Regions from separate parts of the Homo sapiens genome. Here region 1 is linked to region 2. The links are contacts of gene promoters, found by promoter capture Hi-C in human tissues and cell types (Jung and others, 2019). All regions are on one chromosome and are shown on one strand. The core of a region is centred on a gene start or on the middle of the fragment in contact, and the rest is flanking DNA. Distances in the headings are between cores, read along the strand shown. Region 1 has its middle 78 kb from the start of PTPRK. Region 2 holds the start of ARHGAP18 (Rho GTPase activating protein 18).

The links. Contacts are between HindIII fragments. The study calls those that stand out against the background at their distance.
Region 1: a fragment that was not itself captured here is called in contact with the fragment with the promoter of ARHGAP18 in region 2 in 1 of the 25 tissues and cell types used here (hippocampus).

The regions. Positions count from the first base shown.
Region 1 is chr6:128,596,094-128,602,009 of GRCh38, forward strand. No RefSeq gene overlaps it. Among named protein-coding and RNA genes, the nearest start is that of PTPRK, 78 kb to the left of the region's middle. The HindIII fragment of the contact is 8,498 bases long and covers 1-5,916 here.
Region 2 is chr6:129,707,524-129,713,236 of GRCh38, forward strand. It overlaps ARHGAP18 (Rho GTPase activating protein 18), which reads right to left and starts at 2,654. Exons shown (of 15, transcript NM_033515.3): 1 at 2,501-2,654. The coding sequence starts at 2,613. RefSeq lists a silencer at 2,928-3,007. The HindIII fragment of the contact is 16,000 bases long and covers 1-5,713 here.

The DNA.
Region 1 (5,916 bases), core at 2,988-5,487, 1.1 Mb before region 2:
ACCTTCAGTTGTTTTTAGGAAGTTAAGCTGGCCTAGAGTTTCTTGCTGAGTATCCTTGCATTCGTGGGGATGACATTTCTGGGACAAAGCAAACTTCCACCACATCAAACTACCTGTGGATGATAAACCAACTATGATGAAGTTGGCCTTTTCCAGGTTTCTACCTTGGCACCAATTTAACACTTGCATCCTTTCTAGCAAGGTTGTTTTTTATTTATGTTTTTTATTTCCTCTGCATCTCAGTGATAGTTGTCTTGGCACACAGTCCCAGCTGCAGACAGCTTTTATTTTTAGGTTTCCCTATTCAGAAAGAGTAGTCCCTGTTTAGGCATTTCACTGTCATTCTAAGCTTTCCACTGAGCTACAACCCTGCAGCTTTCTTCAAATTCAAGTCACTGGGGAGGGCTTTTGAAATGCTCAAAGAACGAGACAACATTTTGTACAAAGGGGAAAAAGCAACCATAAAGATATTCCAAAACCAAGTAGATACCATGAAAACGAATGGAAAAGAGAAGACAGTGACAGGAACCAAAAGGACAAAAGACAATATGTTGAATCTGTAATAAGCCAGCCAGAAGCCCCAAGGACAATGGTAGGAACCTACAGATAGAGGTCTGCACATAGGGAAATAAATTCTTACTTCGTGATTCCCAAAAGCACCACCCAAGTTACTAGAGGTGACAAAAATACTTCCTCTTATTAAAATAAGGAAGTTATTTTGGGACCACATTATTAGTGAACTGGTTAGTTTTAGAGAGCTCTTCTAGAAACTCATTGAGGTATAGATTTTCAAAGTAGTTAAGTACATTATTTGAGTAAAATAACATTATGTTCAACCTAACTTACAAAAGGAATAGTATAATTAAACAGACTTGTGCCTGGAACTGAAAATATACTCAGTTAAGCATTGCCATATTTTATAAAGGATGTTAGAATCCCTTTACCCTGTATTTAGTAATCCTAGCTGTGATGCAAGATAGATTAATAGATAAGCCACAAAGTAATTGTAATCAAACATAAAGGTACAATTTAGGAAATGGGTAATGTACCTATAGGTGCCTAATCCAATATATACTTCATATGATGCCCAAATATGCCACATTTTTGGTCTGTTAGAGGAGCATGAAACTAGTGATGGTCAGGAAATGATTCAGAAAGCAAGTCCTAAGGCAGTTGCAAAGCTGTAGAAGGAAAGTCCTGGAAAGCTTTAATGTTTTGGGCTTGCAAATGGGTCTCTTTGTCCTCAAATGTTTTAAGAATAATTTTTCAGTCATAATTTGTAAAAACCAATGGCATTTTTGTTGAAAATATTTTGGCCTCTTGAGGTGGACTTGCAGAAAATACTGCAACAGCACTTTTGTACCCCCACTAACCATTTCGATGAACTCAGCTGTATCATCTCCTGCCCTCACCCACTGTTTCACTCCTGGTTACTGCCCTCTGTTCTTAGCATATATGATACCCTGCCATGGCTCATTCGTTCTCAGCAAGGGGACAAGGAACTCAAGAACTGGCAGCACGAGAGCAAGTTGCCTCAGGCCAGGGGTCAGACCCGGCTATAGGTCTTGCCTTGTCTCCTCTCCACTTTCTCTATTTCTTTGGCTCTCCTGACAATTTCTCATAGCTTCCCTGTTTGAGCACACATTTTGCTTTTCCCCTTGCATTTCTATTGATCATCCAGAAGCTGTTTGCTGGGGCCTTTGCAACTCCCAGCTTGCAATATTTATGTCCATTCTCTTGATACCTATGTGTATCCATTTCCCTGACATTTTAAAATGTGTTTCTCCTCAGTTTTAGCTCTTCTCCTGACTACTACTTTGCCCTGTCCCTAGATATCCTGCCATAATTAATGTTGAATGAAAGAATCTAATCAACCAAGACTGGAAATTCATACAGACTTTGAAATGGGGACAAAATCTTACATTTGTTTCTAGTGTGTCCCCATAGATTTGACTATCACACTTTGGGGCATCAGTGGCATTAAGTGACAAATTACTTCTGGGAGTTGTAGGATGATTCTATGTCAAGCTCTCCACTCAGATCCAATGAGTCACTAGTTCCTACTTATGAACAGGTATTAACTTGCTTCATTTGCAAACCCCAGCAAGAATTTTGGTCACAAGCCACAGTTGCCATAAGAACTGGCTTTGGAATAAGTTAGGCTTTGGTTCCTATGCCAGCTCTCCCATGTCATAACTTTGATCAGGATAGCAATAATAATAATATTTTTTCTCCCAAGACTTACCATAGAGTTTGGTACATAGAAAGTACTTAACTACTATGATGAGGCATAAAAATGTTTAATTAATCACCGAGATTTAAACTGACTTTTAGAGGAACTTTCTTAGCAGGTACCTGGTTCCCCAAAGTTTCTCATGCCCATGACACGCACTATAACCTTAGCAAAGGTTATCAGGATCTTCTGTTGACTGTGCTGTTCTTTCTGCACTTTTGGCTTCTTGGAAACACTGTCCCTCCCAACAGTCCATGCTGAGAGTTTCCAACTGGGTAATCACATCTGTCTAGTCAGATGCTAACTTTCTGCTCCGCAGAGGTATGTCCCTCAAAGTTCATACCTGAGGAATCATTTGGAAAGATTCCTTCCTTCAATATCTCTGGCTGAGTCATGCATACCTCCTCATCAAAGACAAATAGAAAACAAGGTCAATAGGAAAGCGGTGCTCACCTATCTTACTGTCTGTACCTTTTCCTATTATGACTAGCCTCATAATCTTTAGGTTAGAATGACTTGCACTAACCTGTTCCTAGAGTCCCTTCCTTGTCCCTTGTGGCACTTGCCAGTTGTGATTGCAACTGGTGGTTTTAAGCATGTTACCACTTCAAAACTCCAAGCTTTATGAAAACCAAGAAGATGTATGTACCATTTGACTATTTTTATATCTCCCATTTCTAGCCCAGGGGTTGGCATTATCACATAGCAGTTAAGAGCTTGTGATCTGGAGCCAGCCTGCGTGGTTCAGCTTAAAACTCAACTCCATATTATTTATGTGAATTTAGGCAAGTCACTGAAATTACTCCTACTTCAGTTTACTTTCCTAAAAACAGGTATTTTCATAATAGTGTTTACCTCTTAGGAGAGATTAAATAAGTCAATATGCATAAGCACTTAGGACAATGCTTGGCACAGAGCAAGTAACTATTAAAATAGGTACTTAGTAAATATTTGCTGGATTAGCAAATGCCACAATAGGTCCAGTCATCAGCATTTTGCAGACATCATTTAATCAACCCGAATAGTCCAGTGGCTCTAGAGTCTCTTAATTTCTTTTTTCATGATTTTTTTTCATTTACTGCCTCTCAGGCTTTATTGCATTTGTGTCAAATCCACTTGTCTAAACATTTAAAAAAGCAAAACAGTGTTACATAGTTTTAAAAACCATTATAATTTGACTCTATGAGTTTCAAAAACTTCATATACAAGTGCTTAATTGTCTCATTCGAGGTTTTACATTGCTGATGAAATCCACTCATTTAAGAGGTAGGTAGTAATGCAGTGTGTGGGGTGTAAAGTAAAATGCTAGGGGTGTGTGTGTGTAGGTATGTTTGTTTATATGTGTGCTTGTGTATATTTTTATGTGTGTATGTTAGGGGTAGCTGGCTGTGCCAAAGGTGAATAAGATGAAGTTCCTGCTCTATAGAATCTTGAAATTTAATAAAAGAGATAACCATGCAAACAACTAACTAAATCACAAGGCACAATCCTCTGTGAGCCTGTGAGTATCTGCATCCTGCTCTGGGAAAGTGTAATAATCTCTTTTTGTGTCTACGATTGTACCCGGGCTGGCATCTGAGTTAGATCATAGGCTCCTAACATTTCACTTTATCAGTTCGTACAATGCCCCACATCTCTGTGAGCTAAAAAAACATGTTGCTATCAGCACAATGTGAGAAGAATGGTTTTTTTTCCCCGAAGGGACAAAAGTAGTGCCATAAAGCTATAGAATAGGCAAGTCTCTCAGTAAAATGAGTTTCCCTAAAAGGATTTCCTAAGGAACATCTTAAGGTATTTAAATAAACAAACAAATAAGACAACTGAGTAGAGTTTAAGTCTGTGCCTTTTCCTTATTCTCTAGTCCTGGTTCTTTTGACGTAAAGTGAAACATTTTTGGGGTTATTTATTTCCACCCCCACTCTGTCATAATATAAAGAGAATTCTCAGAGGGGAGACTATAGAAGTCTGTCAGCAGCTGACTCTTTTCTGGCAGGAAGACTATTTTATAAAAAAAAGAAGAAATGGATTTCCTCTCCTTGTAGTTCAATATTTTCTTCCTCTACACATTGGTTAAATTCCTCCATCCTATTTCCTTGAAAATGTCAGGGTTGGGTTGCCCCAATCTCAGACAGCTCTCTTCATTATGATTATCAGTGTTAATGCCATGTCATTAATCCTCACGAGTATATGGAGGCCTCACACTGAATGAATGGGGAAGGTCACCATGGAAACATCTGTCTCCATAGATGACTCACGGCAACCCCCATAACTGCTGAACCACATCCTGTCTCCCAAATGCACTGGATGAAGCCACAAATTTGGCATTTCCTACAGGACCATATTCTTTTTAAAAGCTATTAAAAATCTATGCCAGGGAAGCATTTTTCAGACTCATGGCAATAATACTCTTTGCAATGTGTTTAAGTGGGTGATGCTATGCAATTAGTTGTTAACACCTTTTAATAAATGCACACAGTAAACATTACCTGTGGTTTTTCAGCTCCCGGTTTCTTTGCAGTGCTGTCATCTCTGGAGACAGGCGCTGGCAGAGAGAAAAGTGCCCATGTAGAAAATAAGCAAAACACCTGCATTCTCACATTTCAGAAATGATCCTCCTTAGGGGTTAGTGTGGTCTATCAACTTGCATCACAGTGAAGTGGAGGGGAATAAAATGGTCTTTGCTGGATTTATTTTTTTGGCTGCCTCAATGAAAAAAGCAAGCAAGATAACTCATGTAGAAAAATTACATTTGAGGACTGCAGACTTCTCACTTAGCCTTATCATGGAACGGCAGGATATCAACATTTCCTAGATGGAAAATTAGGTCTATGTTGGGAGATATCAGGCTTAAGTAAAATCACATGACAACTACTGTGTATATCCCAGTCACCTCGGCACAGCTACGCTGAGCAGTCTTTCTAGGGTTGCTATGTTCAGAGTTGGCTGTAACTATACACACCGTAAGCCCAGTTGGAAAAGCAAACAAGGGAGTGAAAAAGGGAACAGACTATTTCCCAGGCTGTACACATTTGCTGAATCTTCACAAAGGCAGGTTGTCATTTCTTGTTTATTTCTTGAATCCTAGATGGAAACCTGGAACTTGAGTGATAATAATAGTAGACCTTTGCTAACTGTACATATATTAGCTCATTTGTTTCTGTAAATGATCATATAATGTGGGTAGTATTCTTTACTTCATTTGACAGATTAAGAGACTGAGGCATGGAAAAATTAAGTGATGTTACCATGGTCACCAAGCTCTTAAGTAGCTGAGGCGGGACATGAACCCAGGCATCTGGCATCCAGTTTATTTCCTTTAACTTTAAGCCACATATTTACCTCTTGTAGAGTCATATTTATTCGTTTTCTCTCCTCTTGTTTCCTCTCCTCTTTCTCTCCCTCTCTCTTTCTTACCATTTTTCTACTACTCTTTCACACCTGCCCCCAATCTTTCCCCTCAAGCCCACACCCACTTCCTACTTCTCTCCTCTCTCCTCTCTCTCTCCCTCTCTATTGCTGGAAGTGATGAGCCCCATCTGGGTCCACCAGCTGGCCCCAGACAGGGGATTTTGGCCTCTCCCAAATTAAATCATACTTGTAAAGCAGGAAAAGCTACTCCCTGCTTCCAGATCTCCCCTTCCCACTGACCCTCCCTTGTCCCTCTGTCGCCTTCCTTCTTTTGC
Region 2 (5,713 bases), core at 1,404-3,903:
AGTGGCGTGATCTCAGCTCACTGCAATCTCTGCTCCACCAGCCTCAAGTGATCCTCACACTTCAGCCTCCTGAGTAGCTGGGACCACGGGCATGCACTACCATTTCTAGTTTGTTTGTGGTTTCTTGTTTTTTTTTTTTTTTTTGTATTTTTGGTAGAGCTGTGGGGGCGGGGGTCTTTTTTTTGCCCAGGCTGGTCTCTAACTCCTGAGCTCAAGCAATCCACCCACCTCAGCTTCCCAAAGTGCTGAGATGACAGGTGTGAGCCATCACACCCAGCCTAATGTAGCCTTTTTAAGAGTTTTGTTTTGTTTTTACTTTTTGGAGAACTTCTTTAAATAGGCATCAACCATCAACCTTGCACCTTGGAGCAGCTTCCCAGGGCTTAAAACAACACCTGACCAACCCAGCCAAAGCCAAAGCCAAAGTCCAGTTCACCGCCCCGAAACCACTATCACCATTCTTAGGTGGTCACCGAGGACCCCATCCCACCTTCAAATCCTCCTTCCTTCTATCCATCCCCTCCCCCATAGCAATTACAGTATCTCAATCCTTTCAGGCTAAACAGGGTATCTCCCAAAACAACAACAAGTTTATCTGATTCGTTAGCCCTTAAGGGTAAAAGCCATTGAAAACTAGCCCTACTCCCTCCTTCCTCCCTGCCCTCAAACCAGGCTCCCATCTTCTCCGGTCAATATCAGGAACGATCCCTAGAACTAATTCAGTGGTGGGAAGTTGGGTCTGGTATGGGCAGGCTACGTGACAGCCAGCAAAGGAGCTCACCTGGAGCTGTGGCCCCACACAGGGCACTTGCCGTGTGGGCAGCTGCCCACCCTGCCACCTTAGTGCCTCTTGGTTCTGCTTCAGCCTAGGCAGAGAATGATCTGATCCTCTCTTATTCTCTCAACCCACTCAAGTATGGGCCACCCACACTGCAAACACAGAATAATGAGTCTCCAGAACTGGAGATGCAGCCCCAGACAAAGGCCTAGAACTCCAGACCTTCCAAAAACTTAACTAATCCCTGGGGTTTGAGTCCTACGTGAAAATGAGAGGTTAGGACTCAGTCCTTAAGGTCCTTTCCATTCTCACAATCAAGATCCAAGATTCAGCTCAGGTCCTCAGGCCATTCAGCCTAAAGTCGGAGAATGTCCTGAGCTTGTATAATTTTGGCAATTTTGACTGACATGTGGAATCCAAGTTATGGCTGGGTATGGGGTTGGTGTTGCAGGCTGCTTTACTGCTTAATGATTACTAATACATTACAGAAAAATGGATGAAAACACTTCAAGATCTCTTGATTTAATGATTTAACATTAAGTCATTTAAAATGATGGAAAATGAAATGGTAACACAGCTAAGGCACAAGCACCAAATCTTTTTTATCTTTGGAAATGAATTCATTCAATGAAATACATACTGTGGATGCTATGTGAGAAACAGTTCCCGTCAGCTGGGAGTCTAACACTGAGTATTACAGCCATTCCTTTGATTTTTCTCCCTCCCTCATATTTGGAGATTTTAAAACAAATGAAAGGCAGCATTATTTCAGCTTAAGGCACAGGCATAAGTCACATAAGAACAAAGAAGGTTTTATTATCACATTAAGCATTGAGGAGGAAATGTGCTTACCGATAACTAATTTAGTGTTCTAGGCTATTAGGTTAGTATTTGCTTCTTGCAATCTTCTAGGCCAATATTTACTATTTATATCTTGATGGAGGTAAAAATGTTCAGCTAGTGAGAAGGTCATTAAGGAGAGAAAGAAAAAAAAAAGCCCTTGGAAAATGGAACAAAGTACACAGATAGGGAGAAAGGTACCCTTTGCGCCTCAGTGGTCTATAGAACATTTGCCCTCTCTGCCTATAAAGTGATTTAACATTAACCACATTTCACTCCAGCAGCAGAGTGCTATCTCCTGACAAAAACTCCTTTTTGAAAGCCTGGGGGAAAAAAAATCCACATACACAAAAGAATGTGAAACATATTGCCACAGGCCAGTGTCTTGGGCTTTTTGCCTAAGAGGTTTGCTTTCAGCAAAGAGAGGGGGGAAAAAAAACACTCTAACAACAACAGCTTGTACAGTACAGTGAACAGCCTCCCTGCTTTTTGGCAGACTTTCCCAGCGAACAGTTCCAGTGGCAGTGCCTTGAGCCCATTCAAGAATTCCATTTCATAGGAAAGGAAGTGTTTCAGATAGACCTATTTGATCTTTCAGCATGTGCAAATGCACCTGCTAAATAGCTAGTCTGACAGCCCATATAGCCCTCTCCCCAGTTCCTTCTTCTCTGTCTTCACCAGTAATCATATGGGTTATTTCAGACTTGGACTAGGTGAGATGAAAAGTACATAAAAATCACGCCAAACGTTGCTACTGCTGCTGCACGAGCTCAGGCTCGACGTGCAGATGGAATTCCCTTCTCCCCACGCCAACTTCCCTGTCACTTTCTTCCTGGAGCAGGTAAGAGGGTTTTGTTTTGTTTTCAGCTTCCGAAGGCTTACCTCGAGGTGGCTTCCTCCCCTGCCTTTGCATGGCTGTTCCCGACGGTCTGGTCCTTGCCGCTGGGGTGGTAGGCTGTTAGTACCACTCCCTGGGAACTGGAGAGCCAGCTCATGGTGAGAGAAGGGACATACTTTCTGCGATCCTGACACAGAGAAGGGGAAAGAAGTTCCTGTCTCGCCTGGCAACTCGCTCATTAGCATTGGCCAGCTCCTCCCCGCAGGCTGGCGATTCACACGGGGAGGGGCGGGGTCTGTCCAGGGAAGGGCTTCCTGCCTCTCCAATTAGAAGCTGCAACTCACAGCATGGTTTCAACTCTGGACAATTGCACTCTGGGCGGCTTTGGTTAAAGGAGGCGAAGGGTGGAAGCGACGGGTTGCACCCACCCCCAAGTTAGTCTGATCAGATTAAACTGCCAGAACGTATATTCAACTCATCACTGTAACTACAAGCCGTCTTACTTAGGAAACCATGAGTTGCTGCCAAGGCTTTTTTTTTTCCCTCCCCAATTCCTCTATCTTATAATTTCTGCTACTTAATGTAACATGAGTAAAGGCATTTCTTAACCCCTTCATGTTCAGCGTTAAAATTAGCCATAGTAAAAAACAACGAACCCGCGGCAAAACTCTGCAATCCAGACGACGAGAAAGGCTTGATCCTTGTGTCCGGTTAAAAATGCCCTCATAAAAATTGTGTGTCCTGGAATGTCGTCGTCTTTCACATAAAGCCAATCTCAAATATACGTCTTGTTTTAGCAAAATATTTTTCAGCACCAAAAAGGGATAGACCTACCAATGCTCTGTTAAGTGTTATTGCTGAGAACAAGAGAAGTCCCTGCCATTTGTTGAGCACCTACTATATGCCAAGCTCTCATGGACGGGGGTTTCACATGTATTATCTCATTCCATTCAATTCTCTCTCTCTCACACACACACACACACCGTACAAGATAGGTATCACTATCATCTGTGTTATACATAACACAAGGAAAGTAAGGCTGAGGGACGAGTTAAGTAACTTCACTAAGATAACACAGTTGCTAGTGCCAGAAGCTGGATTTGAACAGAATTCTAGGCTACATTCCTTTTATTTTTCACCAGTATGCTCTTCTTTGTTTTGCAGATTAAGAAACAAGATCAAAATTATCATAAACACAAAAGACAGCTCTGTTCTTTCTCCCCATCTCCCCTCCAAAAAAAAAAATCACTTTTTTGGTTTGTTTTTGAATCAGGGTCTCACTCTGTCACCCAGGCTGGAGTACAGTGGTGATTGTAACTCACTGCAGCCTCAACCTCCCAGGCTCAAGAAATCCTCCAGCCTCAGCCTCCCCAATAGCTAAGACCACAGGCATGCACTACCACGCCCAGCTAATTTTTTTATGCTTTGTGGAGAGGGAGGGTCTCACTGTGTTGCCCAGGCTGGTCTTGAACTCCTGGGCTCAAGCAATCCTCTTGGCTCAAGCTCCCAAAGTATTGAGATTACAGGCATGAGCCACCACGCCTGGCTTCTACTCTGACATACCCAGTAGTCTGAAGGTTTTTTTAGATTTTTATGATTCATTCAACTCTCTAGAATTCCTCTTGAACAAGTTTCCAATTCCATCATTACATAAACTTATTGCTTATACCTTATCATTATTTAAAACAGTCATGAAAAATAATTTCTTCCTCCTTACATACTCTAGAAGTATCTGAAATTTATTTTTGAACCCTCTTTCTTATAATTTACAAAAGTCTTCCTTAAAAGGAATTTATATCTTCCTCCCTCCCCCCTGCACAACTGCTCAACCTTCCCATTTCCACTTCCATAGGACTTTACTTGCTGTCTCCTTTTTATCCCCATGACCTCAACCACCTCTGGATCCTATAATGCAGTCTTAGCTCCAATATTACAACAGCCCTTTTAGCTCATCTCCCTGTCACCTCCTTTAAATTGCTTTGACATTATGATCACACCCTGGCACTCATGATCCCTCTCCTCGCTTAAAAACCTTCATTGGCTCTCTATTGCTAACAGAGCCAGTTCCAGGCTTTTGAGCAGATCACTGGGCATTCCTGCTACCTTATACATACAAGTCTTTCCATCTGCTAGACACAATCTTTTCAGGTCCTACTATGATTCTTTTCTCTTCATCTGACAGCTAACTTAAATTTTGTACCTACTGAGCCTTCAGTAAACACTGAATGGAGGAAAACCTGAATGAATTGAAAGTATCCTTTAAAACTCTACTAAATTTTTTTTTTTTTTTGAGACAGAGTTTCGCTCTTGTTGCCCAGGCTGGAGTGCAATGGCATGATCTCGGCTCACCACAATCTCCACCTCCCAGGTTCAAGCGATTCTCCTGCCTCAGTCTCCCGAGTAGCTGGGATTACAGGCATGTGTCACGACGCTGGCTAATTTTGTATTTTTAGTAGAGACTGGGTTTCTCCATGTTGGTCAGGCTGGTCTTGAACTCCCGAACTCAGGTGATCCGCCCACCTCGGCCTCCCAAAGTGCTGGGATTACAGGCATGAGCCACCGCGCCCGGCCAACTCTACTAAATCTTTATATTAAAATTGGTAATATTAGATAAGCGGTTCCCATGCACATACCAGTGCTAACCTATGAGGAAATGTTCATCAGTTCAGGCAAAACAAAAACTATAAAGAGAGGGAGGCAAAGATTAAAGTAAATTAGAATATATGTGTTTTGTCTTTTCAGTGTCCTTACATGGAAAAAATGTTAATAACCAGCTCATCCACCCCTCCTTTTTTATGTAGCTACTCTGAAATGCAAACATATGGGAATCACTATCTTATACAATTATTGATGGTAATCACTACATTATCTTTTGGAAATTCTTTTCTGTTTCCCTCCCACCTTTTTCTCCCCCCTTACTTCCCTCTACCTCCCTTTTTATTATCTTCCTTTTTTTTCTAGTTTTCCTTCTTCCTTTGCTATGTCTTTAGCCTGTCAATGTCATCCATGCCCATTGGCAGCCACGGGCACTGCATCTCTCATGTGACAGTTTGCGATGAAGATTTTGTCCAGTTATAGCCAAAACAATTATTTAGTTATATTTTTGCCTAATTATGGTCTTTTCACTTGTTTAATAACAAATCACAATGTACAGGTTGAAATGTAATTGTTTTACAATGTCAAAATAATATTTGGGTTTGCAATATCCACCGTTTTTAATTTCTGTGAGGCAGAAAACCAAATGTGATACAAATTGA